Regions from separate parts of the Homo sapiens genome. Here regions 1, 3 and 4 are each linked to region 2. The links are contacts of gene promoters, found by promoter capture Hi-C in blood cells and fetal thymus (Javierre and others, 2016). All regions are on one chromosome and are shown on one strand. The core of a region is centred on a gene start or on the middle of the fragment in contact, and the rest is flanking DNA. Distances in the headings are between cores, read along the strand shown.

The links. The method cuts DNA at HindIII sites, captures the fragments that hold promoters and counts their contacts. A CHiCAGO score of 5 or more calls a contact.
Region 1: a contact is called between a fragment that was not itself captured here and the fragment with the promoter of BMP2 in region 2, in 1 of 17 cell types (total B cells). The highest score is 7.4, in total B cells.
Region 3: a contact is called between a fragment that was not itself captured here and the fragment with the promoter of BMP2 in region 2, in 1 of 17 cell types (endothelial precursors). The highest score is 7.7, in endothelial precursors.
Region 4: a contact is called between a fragment that was not itself captured here and the fragment with the promoter of BMP2 in region 2, in 1 of 17 cell types (endothelial precursors). The highest score is 5.0, in endothelial precursors.

What each region holds. Positions count from the first base shown.
Region 1 is chr20:8,718,740-8,723,057 of GRCh38, forward strand. It overlaps PLCB1 (phospholipase C beta 1), which reads left to right. Exons shown (of 32, transcript NM_015192.4): 15 at 3,615-3,682. Among named protein-coding and RNA genes, the nearest start is that of RNU105B, 110 kb to the right of the region's middle. RefSeq lists silencers at 2,383-2,677, 3,679-3,728. The HindIII fragment of the contact is 1,995 bases long and covers 443-2,437 here.
Region 2 is chr20:6,766,146-6,770,859 of GRCh38, forward strand. It overlaps BMP2 (bone morphogenetic protein 2), which reads left to right and starts at 1,541. Exons shown (of 3, transcript NM_001200.4): 1 at 1,541-2,730; 2 at 3,975-4,327. The coding sequence starts at 3,982. LOC105372517 (a long non-coding RNA gene) reads right to left here and starts at 1,339. Exons shown (of 4, transcript XR_937229.2): 1 at 1,176-1,339; 2 at 255-660. RefSeq lists promoters at 1-2,595, 1,405-2,046, 1,436-2,595, cis regulatory regions at 509-1,299, 1,306-1,405, 2,046-2,220 and silencers at 1,485-1,534, 1,625-1,674. The HindIII fragment of the contact is 17,330 bases long and covers 1-4,713 here.
Region 3 is chr20:7,862,291-7,867,129 of GRCh38, forward strand. No RefSeq gene overlaps it. Among named protein-coding and RNA genes, the nearest start is that of HAO1, 76 kb to the right of the region's middle. The HindIII fragment of the contact is 2,686 bases long and covers 192-2,877 here.
Region 4 is chr20:7,927,744-7,932,305 of GRCh38, forward strand. The region is part of intron 2 of HAO1 (hydroxyacid oxidase 1); the gene reads right to left. Among named protein-coding and RNA genes, the nearest start is that of HAO1, 10 kb to the right of the region's middle. The HindIII fragment of the contact is 2,565 bases long and covers 1,435-3,999 here.

The DNA.
Region 1 (4,318 bases), core at 190-2,689, 2.0 Mb after region 2:
CTCTGGGAGGTCATTATTCTGGCTACCATGTAAGCCAAATAGTCTTCAGAGTGACCATATGACTTTAAGCTTCATAATGGGAAATATTAACTATAGAACTGAGCACTGGATGCATTGTCATTGATGATATGCTGAAGAGTTCTGGGCATTTCAATTTTTTCATGTTTTAAAGAACTTTTTAAAATCTGTGACATGGCAAAATTACTTAAATTATCTTTTGAAGCTCCTAGAGGATGCCTAATATCATTTCTTTTCCTTTTAAATTAAGGGTGAAATAGATTGCTGTGGTTGATGAGAAAAGAATTCAGTGGCACTCATTTCCTTGGGATTATTTGTCATTTAGTCTGATTTATCTTCCAAGTTCAGTCAGAAGCTTGGCAATCTGAAAATCGCATTATAGACATCTCCTGATTGCAGGGTGATTAAGTGGAAGAAACTTTTAAGCTTGACTGTAGGAAGTTTTTCAGTTATAAGTTAAACATAGGAACAATCAATTGGAAAACTACTTAGCAGTGTCTACAAAAGCTGAATATATGCACTCCCTGTACCTCGGGAGTTCCATTCCTAGGTATATGCTTGCTAAAGATGTGTATTTAGGTTTACCAAGAGACACGTACAAGAATTGCTTAAAGCAGAGGTATTCAGAATAGCCAAATACTGGACACCAAATACTCGTCAACAGATAAATGAATTATGGTATATTCACACAAAGAAAGAATATGCAGCCATGAGAATAATCTATAACTAAATGAAAACTATGGATGAATCACTATAAATAAACATAATATTGAGCAAAGGAAGTCAGGTACACAAAAACTACATACTGTATGATTTAACCTATATAACACACAAAAACAGGCAAAACTAATTTATGCTATTTATTAGAAGTCAGGATAATGGGTTCCCTTGGAAGAAAAGCAACCAGCAGGGAGCCCAAGAGCCTTCTAGAGATTGGTTATATTTTGTTTCTTGATCTGGATATCATTTACTCAGACACGTTTATTTGGTGAAAATTCTTTGCACTGTGGACTTACGACGTGTACTTTTCTGTACGCCTGTTATACATCAGTTATAAGATTTTAAAATAATTAAAATATAAACTCTAGGACAATCAGGGTTAAAAAAAAGTAGCCTGAGACTCTGATTTATCTTTTCTTCTATTTTTCTGTCTCAATTGCCTGTTTTTTTATTGTTTCGATTAAAATCTTTATCAACAGACGTTATATAATTCTTTGAAAGGGTTTTGTCCTGTAGCTTTTGAATGTGTACTTTCATCATTATTGTGCATGTCTTTCAACATTTTTTCAAAAATAATTTCTGTACTCAGTAAAAATGTTCTCTTTGAAGTTTGGAAGTGAGTATCATTAACAGGCCTTTCATTCACACCTATTTCCTAACACAACTCTATCCGTTGAATGATAGCAAGCAAACCTTGTCTTCCTTTGCATGTGGGTGCTTGTGTTTTTTACCATCTGCCTTTCCCACTACCAGTTCTCTGCCTCTTATTAACAGGATGCATAACACAAATGACGATTTTTACAGGCAGTGAACATTATTGCTTAATATAGAGAAAGGGCAACAATCTGTTAGTTATTCAGTAGATTTCCTAAGCTAGCCCTGTTGTCTATTATGCAATCAGTGGAAACTTTTGGACATTTTAATATGTAGGTACCTGAATAAAGAGCACCGCTAATTTACCATTTGGTTCGTAGATGTTCACAGTACTGGGAACTCAAGTAACTTGAAAAACGTGACAGGTATTGTATTTCAAAGCTAGTTTACTTATCATGGCCCCTGTTGGCCAGATGCCTCTTGCAGGATTCAGCCCTTTGCTAGTAGACTTGTCCTAAGGAACTAGGGTAACCTAAGATATTTTTTATAGTTCAACAAGATTCCCCCAACATCCCTCCAAAGATTTACAGGAGAAAAATCAGGTTTCTGCTTTTTACAGTAAAGAAAGACAAATTCTTTCTTTCCCACAGACACTAAAGAATGACCTGATTGGCTATTTGAAATGACTGCGAATTGTTGGGTCCCATGAAGTATTTTATAGAAAGCTCTGCCAAACAATTTTTTAATTATTTAATTAAAAGAATCCCCTCTCTGATTTTTTTTTTTTAAAAAAAAAAGGTAATAAGAACTTGGGACAAAAATTTCATTATAAAAATGCTTAAGTGGCAATACCCTAAAAGAATGTGTCTCTAATATTGTAGTAAGATACGTTTTCTATCCAAAATATAATCGATTCACCTTATTAACTAACACAATATCAGCATTATAAAGTGGTTGTATGTGGCTTTCCTTAATAAACAATCCAATACATAAAAACCCTTGCTGGTCCCAGAAATCTTTTTTCCCCTGGAGATTTTTAAGCAATACTTTTTTCACTACTGTCATTCAGTAATTGAACTGTGTCAGCCAAATGAAAACTTTTATAAGCTTCTCAGAGGACAGTGCAGTGGTACTGTCTCCATTTATATAAATCGAGTAGGGCAGCTAACTTTCAGAAGGCTGGCAGTGGGCAGGGGTGCAAGTTACTTCATTGTTGAACCATTATTGCCATCTATTGGGCTCATCGTGCTATTGCATTGTGTGAGCCCTGAAAGATAGTAGTTAAATCAATTTAGAACTTTCGAACCATTTAGAACAACCTCGCTGACTTTTTACTTGAAAATCTTTTTTATATAACGGATATTTCTGGGTCTGACTGAAGCCCATAGCTATGGAAGAATGTAATGCTTCATACTGATATGAATATTTAACCTAGCAGAAATGTCCATTAATTCTTCAGGGGAAAAACAATTCATTTAAATGAGTGTATATTGGCTACATATGAAGCTGAATTATTTCTGATGGAGTTAGATTTCCAATCATGCTGATATTTAAGGACTTACCCATGTTATCCTGCCCTCTTAAAAATAATATCAGCATTTTCTACGATATGCACTTCGTTGTGATGACAATACATCCATCAAATAAGCTTGCAGACAAATCATAGGATAAAGTTGGCCCTTCACGATTTTTATGTAGTGACTTTGCTGCCAAAGCCCCAGAGTTCCTGCCCCAGCTCCTAACTTCTTTGACTTCTGCAAGGTCCTCTCTGGCCTTGGGAAAAATGTCAACACAAGATCACTGAGCTATGTGCTGGCCACGCATTGCATGGAAGAGTCGCGGCTTGGGAAAGGAGGGAAAGATGAAGGAGGGATAGATAGTATATCTGTTTTCGGGGTCATAGAGACCCTGAGAGAGTGTTTGTATATCAAAATAGAATACATGTACCATAGAAAGCAAACTGTATTAAATGCCAGCAAACTGTTTTCAATGCCACGTGTTTAAAAACATATAGAGAAAAAATATTGACACGCATTTTTTAATAGAATTTTGAAATTTTAAGTGCTATTTATTAACAAATCCAGTTTAGGAAAAAATCTATATTCAAAATGTCAGTATAATTTTCTATAACGAATAAAATTTAAATCCTTGAAAAAAATAATTTTAAACAGCCCAACTTCCAAGGAAATCTGTAATTGATTTTAGGTAAAATATGTGTTACAAATGCTGTAAAGCTAAATGTTGAAATGGTGACATGATGATCTGTTATTAAAATTTGACAGGAGAAGCTGATACGGAAAGTGACGACGACGATGATGATGATGACTGTAAAAAATCTTCAATGGATGAGGTGGGTACTTAGGGCTTCTGGTCCCTAAGGCATTCCACCACCCTGTACTCTCCTGGGTCTGTCTCATGGTCACTTTCTGCCATCTAGTGGCAAAAAGTAGATTTGTGCCTTCCAATTGCCAGCTTCAATTTTTGAGGCAATTAAATGGCTTATGAAATGTTCCACAATCCGGAGAAGATATGGCGTTTAGAAAAATGATCAGAACTGTGACATTCATTGCATTGTTTTAATTTTGGAACACTAGAGCTACCTATTTATATAAACTTAGGCATCCCGAGTAACTTGATTAGCTCAAAAATATTAATTGCACAGAACCTAGAAGAGAATCAGAAGCAGATCAACTGGAATTTTAGAATTTTGTCTTACCAAAAGTTTATACTGAAACAATCTGGGCAACAGAGAGAGACCTCACGCCTTTAAAAAAACAAGTTAAAATGAAAGATAAAACACATCCAGGTGCAGTGGTGTACACCTGTAGTTCCAGCTACTAGGGAGGCTGAGGCAGGAGGATGGCTTGAGTCCAAAAATTTGAAGCTGCAGTGAGCTATGATCACACCACTGTGCTCCAGCTTAGAAAACAGAGCAAGACACTGTCTCTCTTTAAAAATACGTATTTTAAAGTTTATATTGAATCTG
Region 2 (4,714 bases), core at 291-2,790:
TCAACTTCTATAGCACCTTTTTTTTTTTTTTCAGGAAATAAAGTAGCATGTTCCTGAATAATTCCCCCACCCCCTTTTATTTTCCTGGTAGTCAGGCTTCCTCCAAAATACCTTATTTGACCTTTATACCTTTAGAAACAGCAAGTGCCTAATTCGCCTCTGTGGGTTGCTAATCCGATTTACGTGAGCGGAACCTAGTATTATTTTAGCTCCCCTACCGAAAAAATAATACACATGGATAATAGTTCTATTACCAGCTCCTGCTTCTGACTTTTTTCTCTCTGTTTCGCAGGCCCGATAGCTCTGGGAAAGCAGAACTTGGCCTTTTCCAAAAATTTTCTGCCCTTGGTTTTGGGGATCATTTGGGCAAGCCCGAGGTGCTGTGCATGGGGGCTCCTGGAATCCTGGGAAGGGCAGAAAGCCTTGGCCCCAGACTCATCGTGCAGCAGCTCTGAGCAGTATTTCGGCTGAGGAGTGACTTCAGTGAATATTCAGCTGAGGAGTGACTTGGCCACGTGTCACAGCCCTACTTCTTGGGGGCCTGGTGGAAGAGGGTGGCGTAGAAGGTTCCAAGGTCCCAAACTGGAATTGTCCTGTATGCTTGGTTCACACAGTGCGTTATTTTACCTTCCTCTGAGCTGCTAATCGCCTGCCTCTGAGCTGGGTGAGATAAATATCACAAGGCACAAAGTGATTGTACAATAAAAAAATCAAATCCCTCCCATCCATCCTTCAGTCTGCCACACACGCAGTCTACGTTACACACATGTCACGTAAAGCAGGATGACATCCATGTCACATACATAGACATATTAACCGAAATGTGGCCCTTCGGTTGCATATATTCTCATACATGAATATATTTATAGAAATATATGCACATATTTTTGTATATTGGATATATTTATGTAACTATAAATTTACATGCGTATGGATATGAAAATAAATGCATACACATTTATGTAAAAAAATTTGTACACATGCATTTACATATGTAAATACATACATCTCTATGTATTAATGTTTAAAAACACTCAATTTCCAGCCTGCTGTTTTCTTTTAATTTTCCTCCTATTCCGGGGAAACAGAAGCGTGGATCCCACGTCTATGCTATGCCAAAATACGCTGTAATTGAGGTGTTTTGTTTTGTTTTGTTTTTTGAAATCGTATATTACCGAAAAACTTCAAACTGAAAGTTGAATAACGGGCCCAGCGGGGAAATAAGAGGCCAGACCCTGACCCTGCATTTGTCCTGGATTTCGCCTCCAGAGTCCCCGCGAGGGTCCGGCGCGCCAGCTGATCTCTCCTTTGAGAGCAGGGAGTGGAGGCGCGAGCGCCCCCCTTGGCGGCCGCGCGCCCCCGCCCTCCGCCCCACCCCGCCGCGGCTGCCCGGGCGCGCCGTCCACACCCCTGCGCGCAGCTCCCGCCCGCTCGGGGATCCCCGGCGAGCCGCGCCGCGAAGGGGGAGGTGTTCGGCCGCGGCCGGGAGGGAGCCGGCAGGCGGCGTCCCCTTTAAAAGCCGCGAGCGCCGCGCCACGGCGCCGCCGCCGCCGTCGCCGCCGCCGGAGTCCTCGCCCCGCCGCGCTGCGCCCGGCTCGCGCTGCGCTAGTCGCTCCGCTTCCCACACCCCGCCGGGGACTGGCAGCCGCCGCCGCACATCTGCCGCCACAGCCTCCGCCGGCTACCCGAACGTTCTCGGGGCCAGCGCCGAGTGGATCACCGGGGACCGCGAGGCACCCGCGCGCCGCAGACCCCGCGCGGGCTGGAGCACCCGGCAGAGCGCGCCACAGCGCCGTGGCCTCTGCTGCCCGGGCTGCGCCAGAGCCGCGGACGGGCGCGCAGAGCGCCGGGGACTCCGGAGCCGATCCCTAGCGCCGCGATGCGGAGCACCTACTGCAGGAGATCGGGGGCCTGGGACGCGCTGGCCGAGGTGTGATCGGACCCCAGGCTAGCCACAAAGGGCACTTGGCCCCAGGGCTAGGAGAGCGAGGGGAGAGCACAGCCACCCGCCTCGGCGGCCCGGGACTCGGCTCGACTCGCCGGAGAATGCGCCCGAGGACGACGGGGCGCCAGAGCCGCGGTGCTTTCAACTGGCGAGCGCGAATGGGGGTGCACTGGAGTAAGGCAGAGTGATGCGGGGGGGCAACTCGCCTGGCACCGAGATCGCCGCCGTGCCCTTCCCTGGACCCGGCGTCGCCCAGGATGGCTGCCCCGAGCCATGGGCCGCGGCGGAGCTAGCGCGGAGCGCCCGACCCTCGACCCCCGAGTCCCGGAGCCGGCCCCGCGCGGGGCCACGCGTCCCTCGGGCGCTGGTTCCTAAGGAGGACGACAGCACCAGCTTCTCCTTTCTCCCTTCCCTTCCCTGCCCCGCACTCCTCCCCCTGCTCGCTGTTGTTGTGTGTCAGCACTTGGCTGGGGACTTCTTGAACTTGCAGGGAGAATAACTTGCGCACCCCACTTTGCGCCGGTGCCTTTGCCCCAGCGGAGCCTGCTTCGCCATCTCCGAGCCCCACCGCCCCTCCACTCCTCGGCCTTGCCCGACACTGAGACGCTGTTCCCAGCGTGAAAAGAGAGACTGCGCGGCCGGCACCCGGGAGAAGGAGGAGGCAAAGAAAAGGAACGGACATTCGGTCCTTGCGCCAGGTCCTTTGACCAGAGTTTTTCCATGTGGACGCTCTTTCAATGGACGTGTCCCCGCGTGCTTCTTAGACGGACTGCGGTCTCCTAAAGGTAGAGGACGCGGGCCAGGGCCCGGGGTGGGTGGTGGGTGGGAGGGGGATTTGGGCAGCCACTGCGGTAGAGCCCTTCCTTACGTCCAGGCCAGAAGTAAACAGACCCCTCTCCAGTCCACGTGCAACGGAGCCCTGCAGGGGCTCCCACTTCCAGCTGCCCCGGGCGACCGTAAGCCTCACCCTCCCGGCCCGCACTCTTCCACCCCTCTTTCTTCCCCTCTCCCTGGAATACTTTTGGAGCTGTTAACACTTAGATGAGGTGTTTTATTTATTTATTTATTTATTTTTAATTTTTTTAAAAACTTTTTTGGGTCAAAGAAATCCCTTTGAGAGGGTAGCCCCTGGGTTTCACCCGTTAGCTGAGAACCTGTCCGCTCTGCCATGGTGATCTCCATTCTTCAAGTGTTTCCGGGAGACTTGGTTTCTTTGCTCAGAGCCGTGTCCCATTTAGGAAAGTACTAGGAGTTTGGGGTTCTCCCTACTTGTTTCCAGAAATGCGAGGGGTCAGTACTGAAGGATCACTTGGTACTGTGTTTTTAACAGCTGACACGTGCATTAATAGATATTCACCATTTACGTAATCCCGGGAAGATACATGTGTATCTTGACTGCACTGTGGGGATGCGGGATGGAGCTGCCTTTCGAGACACCCCTGAGGGTAGGGGCCTGGGACACAAGTCATAAGTGGCTTCAGAAGTTGTGGCCTTGAGCTTACAGGGTCTGGAAGCTATAAGGGTGTGTGTGTGTGTGTGTGTGTGTGTGTGTGTGTGTCAGGAAGTTCTATACAGTGCCTCTAAGGAAGTCACATGCACCATTTATGTGTGTTTATATGCCAGACAGCGCTCAGCACTCCGCATTTGGGTTTGTATAGGGGACGCAGGGTGTCAGATCAAGCGGTGGTTTTCCCAGGTTCCCGGCATTGGCTGTCAGCGCTGTGTCACACACAAAAAAGTGACAGTCATTGGCGCTGGTTTGGTTGGGGGGGAGGGCAAATCCCAAATCTGATGTCAGACGAGCTAAGCGTTGGATGGGAGCGATAAATCATCTGGTTCAGGAACTTGGGACCCTTCATTATCCCAAACGTTTGAGCTTCGGTCGGTCTTACCTAGACTCGTGAGTGTGCCAAGCCAGGAGGGCATCCTGGAGGAGGCACGCCAGCCAAATGGGAGACCGGGCCGCGGGGGCGCGAGGGGGGAGGACTGGGCGGGGAACTCGGGTGACTCACGTCGGTCCTGTCCGCAGGTCGACCATGGTGGCCGGGACCCGCTGTCTTCTAGCGTTGCTGCTTCCCCAGGTCCTCCTGGGCGGCGCGGCTGGCCTCGTTCCGGAGCTGGGCCGCAGGAAGTTCGCGGCGGCGTCGTCGGGCCGCCCCTCATCCCAGCCCTCTGACGAGGTCCTGAGCGAGTTCGAGTTGCGGCTGCTCAGCATGTTCGGCCTGAAACAGAGACCCACCCCCAGCAGGGACGCCGTGGTGCCCCCCTACATGCTAGACCTGTATCGCAGGCACTCAGGTCAGCCGGGCTCACCCGCCCCAGACCACCGGTTGGAGAGGGCAGCCAGCCGAGCCAACACTGTGCGCAGCTTCCACCATGAAGGTGAGGCATGGAGCAGGGCGTGGGGGCGGGGAGTCACCCTGCAAAGCCCTCCACCGTGGGCAGACTGCAGCCGTCCCTGTAGAGGCAGCTTGGCCGGGGCACCAGCGGACGTTTCCACTCTTGCTTCTGTACTATCGTTTCTGAATCTGATTTTAACTCACTGCTTGTGTGGTGGGGGAGCCAGGGATTCCCCTTTAGTAACTCCGCACCCTCTTCCTGGCTTGCAGCCAGAAGAGCTACTCCTCCTGGAAGAATTGGAGAGAAATCAAGTGATGGGGAAGATGAGGGCAAAAGGCATGCCTCTAGTCAGCTAAACGTGCAAGAATTCCACAGAGGGAAAAGGAGAAAAAGGGAGGCAGATTGAGATTTCTTTAAGTCTGTTTGGAA
Region 3 (4,839 bases), core at 285-2,784, 1.1 Mb after region 2:
GTTTATGTCCACTAACCATCCATTCACCAGGTTGATTGAGGAAAATGGGCAGTAAGAGAAGAAAATATGAGCAAAGCCCTAAAGGCTTAGAAGTCTTTGGCTTTCTGTAATCTTGTAATTAAAGCTTCGCCACATGATGAAGATTATGCTTGGAAAATATAAAAATTCAGTAAAACTTTTTAAAAATTCAAAGCTTGATTTAATTGATCTGTAGCTATCCATTTGAAGTAATCCATTTGGTGTTAAGTGAAAACAGAGAGGCCAAACTTTATCTAGAGAAAATGCTATCCCTAAATGACATAATTACTTGGTCTTTAATTGGGGAAAATACTTTGGTATTAGAGTGACATTCAAGAAAACTGAATTTTCAGAGAATGTCGTCAGTAGGGTAAAAAGTAAAGTGTGTTAGTCTTCATAACCTTTCTAGTTCTGACATTGTACATTTGAAGGTAGAATCTGACCAGACTGATTTCTGATAGATGTTGTTTTAGAAATAGATAGTTACTCTTACTTTTTATGAATTTCCTGCAACAGAAATATCTTGAACATTTAGTCATGCCATTTCTTTGCATCGAAGTTCATCATTGGTAGAAAAAATATCCATTCATTCAGCAAGTCTTTATTTACTGCCTACAATGTGCTGCAATTCAAAATCCTCATTCGTATTATGTACTTGAGTAATAACTCTCATCAGTCATATAAAGTCTTAAGATGTACACAAAATTTCTTAACCAGTAGCTTAATTGCTTAGGTAAGCTCTCCCTCAGACCTCAAAAGCTGTAATGAAATGAGAACTAAAATGTTGCAAAGCTAGCCATATTTTTGATCTGTGCCATTTTTAAGATGGTGTTTCAATAAATATTATTCTTTTACCATGCCATAAATTCACCTCTCTATAACTTTAATAGCCTAGTCATAATTTTATCGTTCTCAATTTTAGTGAATTTGTATGTCTTCAACCATCAGTATTTGCCCTTCCAAAATATTTATAATAAGTAATTCAGAAATAGATTCTTCACACCTACAATGATCTGGTCTTCAACAAATTCGACAAAAATAAACAATGGGGAAAAGGCACATCAACAAGAAAAAAGAATCCCATTAAAAAGTGAGTTAATGCCACGAATAGACACTTCTCAAAAGAAGACATGCAAGTGGTCAAGAAACATGAAAAAAATGTTCACCATCACTAATCATCGGAAGGATGAAAATCAAAACCACTATGGGATACCACCTCAAAACAATCAGAATGGCTATTATCAAAAAGTCAAAAAATAACAGATGTTGGCAAGGTTGCAGAGAAAAGAGAATGCTTATATACTTTGGTGGAAATGCAAATTAGTTTATCCACTGTGGAAAGCAGCTTGGAGATTTCTGAAAGAATGAAAAATAGAATTGCTACTTGACCTAGCAATCTCATTACTGGGTACACACTCAAAAGAAAATAAATTCTTCTACCAAAAAGGCACCTACACTTGTATGTTCATCACATCTCTATTCACCATAGCAAAGACATGGAATCACCCGAGATGCCCATCAGTGGTGGATTGGACAAAGAAAATGTGTGGTACATATACGCCATGGAATACTACACAGCCATAAAAAAGAACAAAATCATGTCCTTTGCACCAACATGGATGCAGCTGGAGGCCGTTATCCTAAGTGAATTAACACAGAAACAGAAAACCAAATACTGCAAGTTCTCACTTTTAAGTGGGTGCTAAATATTGTGCACACAGAGATACAAAGATGAGAACAATAAACACGGGAGATTCCAAAAGGGAGGAGGGAAAAAGGGGAGAAAAGAATTGAAATACTACCTACTGGGTACTATGTTTACTGTTTGGGCAATTCTTCTACAGCTATTTAGCTAGAAACAATTTCTTCAGGTCCTCGTTTCTCCTCTGCAGTAATGCAGCATGGGGCTGTGTGAGATATCCTTTCATGTGGATAATGTATTGCTTTGGGCAGAAGAAAGCACTCCTACAATAAATCCTCTACGTGAGCTGCTCCATAAGGAACTTGAAAAACTGGGCAAAACAATGCAAGAAGCAAGCATGAAACTTGAGGTTGTTATCACTGCCAACACACAAAGTTAAATACATGCAACTATTACCAAGTATGTCTGCCCAAGCTAGTCAATGGACCAACTTCTCACTCACTGTATTTTATATTTATAAGCCAAGAGAGAAACACAACAAAAAAAAATCTCACCCTTATGTTTAGAAGGCAAGAACAGAGGACAAGAAAAAGGTAAATTTTGACTAATATTCGCTATTTATTTTGGGTAGTTATTGTTAACTCTTAGAAGTTAAATCAAAAGAAATGTGGGATTCCACCTGTCTTGGGCAGGGCTAGGGAATGTTCACTCTCATTTTCATTATATCCTCTTTGAAGCTACATTCGCCATGTCCTCAATTTTCATTACATATATGTCATGCACTTCCAAAACTGAACCTCATAGTGGCCAGAGAAGCAGCATGTTGAGAGAGACTCACTGATGGGCAATTGCTTCATTACCTCCTACCCACTTGATAACTACAGAGATTTTGTTCAAGTCCACTCTGTGAATTTCACACTTACAGATTCGTAGCCAACTTAATTCAGTGCTAATGCCCTCTATAAATCTGCTTGGAAATCTTGACTAGTCCTGAACCTACATATCATAGTCCTTAAGTCCCACTAGGACTAAGAACTTGACGTACAGAATGAAATGCATTCCTCATCTGCAACTCCTGCCCTCAATCCCACATCTACAATAGTCTCCATCGACCCCATGTTGTTTCTTAGAAAACTGGGTAGAGGATAGTACCTGCTACAGGGAAGATGGCTGAGCTCCATTCAGAGGCTCTTGTCATGTCTGTATGCCCATCCACAAGCTTTAGTGGACTTTGTTTCACATGGCTTGCACCTGTGACTCCATTCAGAAGACTGATCTTGGGCAACTGGAGCCACTTTGCTGCCCAGGGAGTCAGAAGTACCTGGGAATTTACAGGCTTCAAGGATGACCAACAATTCCAGTTTGCTTAAGACTAAAAGATATCTCAAGATAATTTAGTGTGAAAGCAGGATGGTGCCAGGCAAACCAGGACAGCTGGTCACCCAGTGCACCCCCCACACCAAACTCCAAAAATGGACAGCCCTTACCCTCAAATGGGAACGAACTTTTGGGTAAAACTATACCGCAGAGCTCCTTGCAGGACCCAGCTGAGGCTGGGCATTTCCTTTGCTTGTCATCTTCCATTCTGTGTCTGGTTTCCTCCCTCTCACCTCCCCATGTCTGCTGGAAGTACTTCCTTCATGAGTCTTAGGCACCCATTCTCATCACAGGGGAACATTTCTGGGGATCCCCACTGAGGACACCTGCCTCTCTATGAATGTTAGAAAATTGCATGATGTATCTACCACTGAAATCCATAAGGCAGTCACAAATTTCACTTCAGCCAAATTTTTGAGCCTCCTCTCCTGAAACAAAACTGATAATGGAAATATTGGCAAGTAGAAAAATCCCTCATCTTGTTAATTGTTTTTGTGTTGTTTCCATAGCCTCAGGTCAACCTAGCTGTGGCAGTGATGGCAGCAGAGGGTGAAAGCAGTACTGATGGGCCAAGAAAAAGTAAAAGGAGGAAAACAGAATTTAAATAATAAACCCAAGTGATCAAGACGTGATTATTTCTTCTACAGTGGGGCTTAAAGGCTATTTTTCCTGAAATAAGACTAAAATCTAGAGTACATTTTTAAAAAATAATTTGCTCTACTACGATATGTAGTAATGTATTGATATTATTTATATAGACTTTAAAATATGTTTAGAAACTGTAACTCTGTAAAATATTAACCTGAACTGGAATGGCCCTCTTTAAAAAATATATAATTTTTTTTAAACTCTCCTTCACTGACTTGCTCTTTCAATGAACCACTGAGGTCACTATATGATGAGGAGCAATTTGCAATAATTTACCAAAATAATAATAAGGTAGCTCTATATCCTGTGTGTTTGATTTTTTTAAAAAGGAGTTTCCCTTTCAGGACCCCATGAATGTACAAGGTTCAAACAAAGTGCGGGGAGCTAATGAACAGACTGTGTTTTCCTGTGCCGGGCCCCTGTACAGAATGACTTCATTCAGGGCTACGGCTCGCGCATGGAAAGTGCTGGTAAAAAATCCCACAGAGTTCAGACGACCTTTTCCTAACTTTCGTTTTTTTTTCCCTTGTTTGCCTTTCGGGCCTAAGCCAGGGAAAACATAAATATTCATCAGCTGATATTTGCAGTAGCTGTGAAGTTATGAATGAGGCCATGCGGCTTTCCTCCTATCCCATCTACAGAATGGCAGCTTCTCCACTCAGCTCCCAGCCAAACGACACTTTCCGAAATCCCCAAAGTGTACTAGAAGGCTTTTCAAATTCAGTCTTTTTTTTTCCTTTAATGCTCAAAGCAGAAATGCTGTCTGCTTAATGTTTACCCTAGGATTATAGAAGAAGAAAAAGAAAAACATTGCTTTGCCAAGCTTTAAACTTTCAGATGCCTTGACGTAACAGGCAAATATGCTAGCAGCTCAAAATATTGGTAGTATATATCAATGGATATGATGGGGTCAGGGATTTTTAATATCAAACACTAGACAGATACCTGAGGCATTTATTGTGTGAAGGGCAGAGAAAAAAACCATCGATTTGACCTGGTTCTACTGCTTTGTTAGCATCTGGACAGGTGTTAGAGAGAGATGCTGGAAAACAGTTTTGAATAAGATTTCAAATAGGTCCTCAATGATGAGATATAAAAAGAATGAAAATTGTGCCTGCCATAAGGTCTGGGATGGAGCTGGTCTTTCTGTCGTC
Region 4 (4,562 bases), core at 1,467-3,966, 1.2 Mb after region 2:
AGGATGTTTGCAATAAATATTTTAAGATGATAGCATAGTGCTTGCCTTAGGATTCTTGCTACAGTTAATGACGTTTGGAAATACCAGTAACAGAGCAGGATATTATAGGTAGCACTGCCTAAGTGATTAATAATCTGAGCAAAGCATTAACCTCTCTAAGCCTCGATTTCCACACCCACAGGAGTTGGAGAAAGTTTCTCAGGGTTTTGCACTCACATATTTTAAGATGGTGGTAAAGATAGATGAATAAATAATAAAGTCAAATTGCGTGGCACATACTAATTGCTGTATAAATGCTGGTGATCATCATTTTTCACAAGACTTTGAAGTATCACTTTCTGAGTTTATGCAACATTTATTAAAGACGTTTGTGTTTTTAGCAATAGTCAGAGATAGTTACATATCTTGTTCCTCTCCTATAGACCAAGAATGTACTTTGAAAAATGGAAATTAAAAGCATTCAAATGCTCACTGCCTCATCTAAACCCTCCAAGGCTGACATAGTGCAGTCGAAAGAAGTGGGCTGACATAAAGTGCGTCTAAACCCTCCAGGGCTGACATAAAGTGTAGATTTCAGTAGAGTAAGAAAAGGTAGCTCTATACTTTGAATTGTTTCTTTTTGCATTTGATAAAATTTTAAATGGGATCAAAATCATTTATTTATATACTGAAAAAAATTGCAAAGATCATCCACTTCTATGCCAGTTTTCTGGGTTTTTGTTTTTGGAGATTTTTGTTGTGAAAGTTTTTTCTTTTTTTTTTTTTTGTCTTTCCAGCAGAACTATTTAAAGAACTTTTCTTTTGAACACCAAAATGCAACACAAGTAGCTCATGCTCAGTATCACACCTAAGTTCTGTAAGATCCCTGGAAACAACCCCAGCCTCCTTGGGACGTGGCATTCAATCCACTGGTCTTGCTCAAGTAGCTCACTTTATCAATGAAGAAACATAATCCTAGAAAGTGAAAATGACCTGCCACAGAAATAAAACTAGTTCTCGGTAAATTTCCACATAAATCAGATGTCCCAGATGTACAGCCTAGGGGACACTTGTAGCCCACAAAAGTATTTACTTTGGCCCACACATTGTTGCCCCAAACAGTGTTTTAGGGAATTTTGATTTATTTGCCCACATTTAAAAACCAGGAGATTGTACATAGAAATCAAGATTTCTGGCTTCTTAAAATTTTGGAAGATTTGGCAACCCCACATCCCTGCTCCCTTGGGTCATCAAGAGCTAAGATGTGGCTGCCCCCTTCTGATGGAACATGCAATCTCAGACTCACTGCAGTCTCCACACAGGAGCTTGCACTGTTTTTTGTTTGTTTGTTTGTTTGTTTGTTTGTTTGTTTGTTTCAATTTCATCTTTTTTGGACATTTACATTACAAGCCTGGCTCCTAAAAGTACCTTTTTTTCCCTGAGGTTTCTGCATAAAGCTTAAAATAAAAATATTTTTCACAAAGAAAAAGAACAATTTTTATTTCCACTAGATGTAAATGGAATATACTTTTCTGAAAGTGAGTTTTTGTGTGTGAAAGATAAAGATTTCAGAGACTTTGGGCTCTGAGGGGCAAATAAAGATAGTGTGTAAGCATTTCTAGCATTTATTTCATGAATCCTCACAAGAAATCCTCAGGTGAGAGCTCTTATTCATCCAGGGTTGCCAGATTGAGCAAACATACAGGACACCTATGATTTGTTGTTTATCTGAAATTCAAACATAATGGGCCCTCTGTGTTTTATTTGATAACCTTGTATTCATCATCATTTTGAAAATGAAAAAAGTATAGCTTCATTGGTCACTCTACAAACATGCAGCAGTGTAAAAAAGTAGAGTTCAGACAGGGCGCGGTGGCTCACGCATGTAATCCCAGCACTTTGGGAGGCCAAGGCAGGCAGATCATGAGGTCAGGAGATCAAGACCATCCTGGCCAACATGGTGAAACCCTGTCTATACTAAAATACAAAAAATTAGCCAGCCGTCGCGGTGCGTGCCTATAGTCCTAGCTACCCAGGAGGCTGAGGCAGGGGAATCGCTTGAACCTGGGAGGCAGAGGTTGCAGTGAGCTGAGATAGTGCCACTGCACTCCAGTCTGGTGACAGAGCAAGACTCTGTCTCAAAAAAATAAGAGTCGAGCTCAGTTCTCGGTCCCAGTTAATAAGGTGGATTATTATTATTCCACAGTTGTGAGAGGAAGGGCAGAAAGGCCCTTGAAGTTGGACTCTGAATAAATCTGGAGAGTCAACGGGGAAAATGAGACTATGGCACCATAGCAATTCCCAGAACTTTCTGGAGGCCCATTCTAATTACTCAGGCCAGACCATTGCCTGTGGGCACCAATGGGTTTCACTTACTCTCACTGACCCTGCTGAGGGGGACACTTCTCCAGGGAGATTGATAACTAACCCGTTTTCTGAACCTGGCCCCAACTTCTCTTCCTTGCTAGGGTCTAAGTCCCTGGAGACAGGAATGCTTAGCGGCCAGATATTTAGGAGGGTAACAAAAAAAAAAATACTCCACAACAAATTGCATAGATTTCCCAATATTCCCAAGGACTGGCTTGCTTGAGAGGATTTCCATATTCTTTCTGGGAATGATGGAATAAATACAATAATAACTTCATAATTCCATGTGAATTTTCTGAGTTTTTATAAATAAATCTCTGCCAAGTATGAATATTCTTACACTGTTACTTAAATTTGCCTGTGGCTATCTATAGCCTTCAGTTAGCTATTATCCTGGTTTGCATACTTCAAGAAGCCAAAAATGACACAGAGATGTGAGAGCAAGTCATCTTATTTGGAAACAATCTCAATGAATTGAAGGAATGGGGAAGTGAGAAAAGAATGGGAAGGAAGCCAATAAAAGAGGGTGTGTTCATGGGCAGGCAACCTCAGGGGGCAACTGGGACTCAATCCTTCCAAGGAACACTGGGTGACCATATTAGAAAATGCTTCAGTTACCTGAGCAAAGAGAGCTGAGGTATTTATCCACCTACTGCTGTACATCATTAGCTAGGGAACCCTCTCTCCCATTCCCCTACTTCAAACACACCTATCCATGGGCTCATGTTGCAACAGATAATGTCAGGCAAAAAGTGGTAGGTCTGATGGAAATGGGAAGTAAGAAGGGAATACATGCAGAGCACAAGCACCATCTACTCCAGCCATTCATCCTTTCCTTGCAAGTAACCCACTGTCCCACAACATAAACACACCAGCCAAAGAACACCTGCTATGAGCTGATGACCATCAGCTTTCTGGATACACCTAAATATTAAATAGACTAATAACCTATAGATAGTCTTTAAAACATAGGTGAAAACTTAGAAACCCTGGAGAGAGGTTTCTAGTATAAATACAGAATAGAAACTCTGATGTTGCTGCCCTGATAGGAACCCAATGGAGGACCCTATGTTTTTGAGGGCAACATGTGTACACTTCCATTGCCTTCTCCAATTCCTCTGCAATCTCGATGTCACCACCCTCTCTTTGTTCTGCTGGATCCACCTTATCCAAATGTCTATTGTGTAACTTATCTTCCTGAGGGGTCTGCTTTGCATGCTCCTAAAACTATAATTACTTCTAGGGGATCATAATGGGCTTCTCCTCATGACACTTCATAGGAGTTTCTGAAATTAAAGCTCTTGCAAAGTGGTGAGGAGCCCAGATTCTGGAGACAGAATACCTCTGTCTGAATCCCATCTCTATCACTTATGAATTGTGCATCCCTAGGCAAGGTTATTCACCTGGCGTGTACCTCAGTTTCTCCTGTGTAAAATAGGTTTAATAATATGATCGATTTATTTGGGCCGCTCTGAGCCTTCAATGCTATAATACTCGTAATATACTTAAAATAGTGTCTGGAACATGATAATTGCTTTATAAGTGTTAAATAAATCTAAGGGGATAAGACTGTAATAGGCATTTAATATCTTCTTATGGTTACTTCTGGAGGAAATAGTCCTACTTACACTGTCAAATCATAGTTTCTAAGGAAGCTTTCTTTTCTTCTTTCTTCTCCTCTTTCTTCTCAGCCCAACTCCACCAAGAATAAAGACTGGTCTTGGAACCATCAAATGTGACTTGGAGAATAAGTCTGTCATTGACGAGCTATGAAAAACTGTTTTCTCTGGAACTTTAGCTACTTGCCCACAAAACAGGGACAGAAACACCTGTCAAATATCAAATAAAGCAATATGTGTTGGTATGGTTAGGCTTTGTTTCTCCATCCAAATCTCATCTTGAATTATAATCCCAGGTGTTGAGGGAAAGACCTAGTGGGAGGTGATTGGATCATGGGGGTGGTTTCCCCCATGCTGTTCTCATGATAGTGGGTGAGTTCTCATGAGATCAGATGGTTTTATAAGTATCTGGCATTTCCCTGCTTGCACTTCTCTCTCCTGCCACCATGGGAAGAAGGTCGTTCCTTCCCCTTTGCCTTCCACCATGATTGTAAGTTTCCTGAGGCCTCCCCAGCCATGTAGAACTGTGAGTCAGTTAAACCTCTTTCCTTAATAAATTACCCAGTCTCGAAGAGTATCTTTAAATCAGTGTGAGAA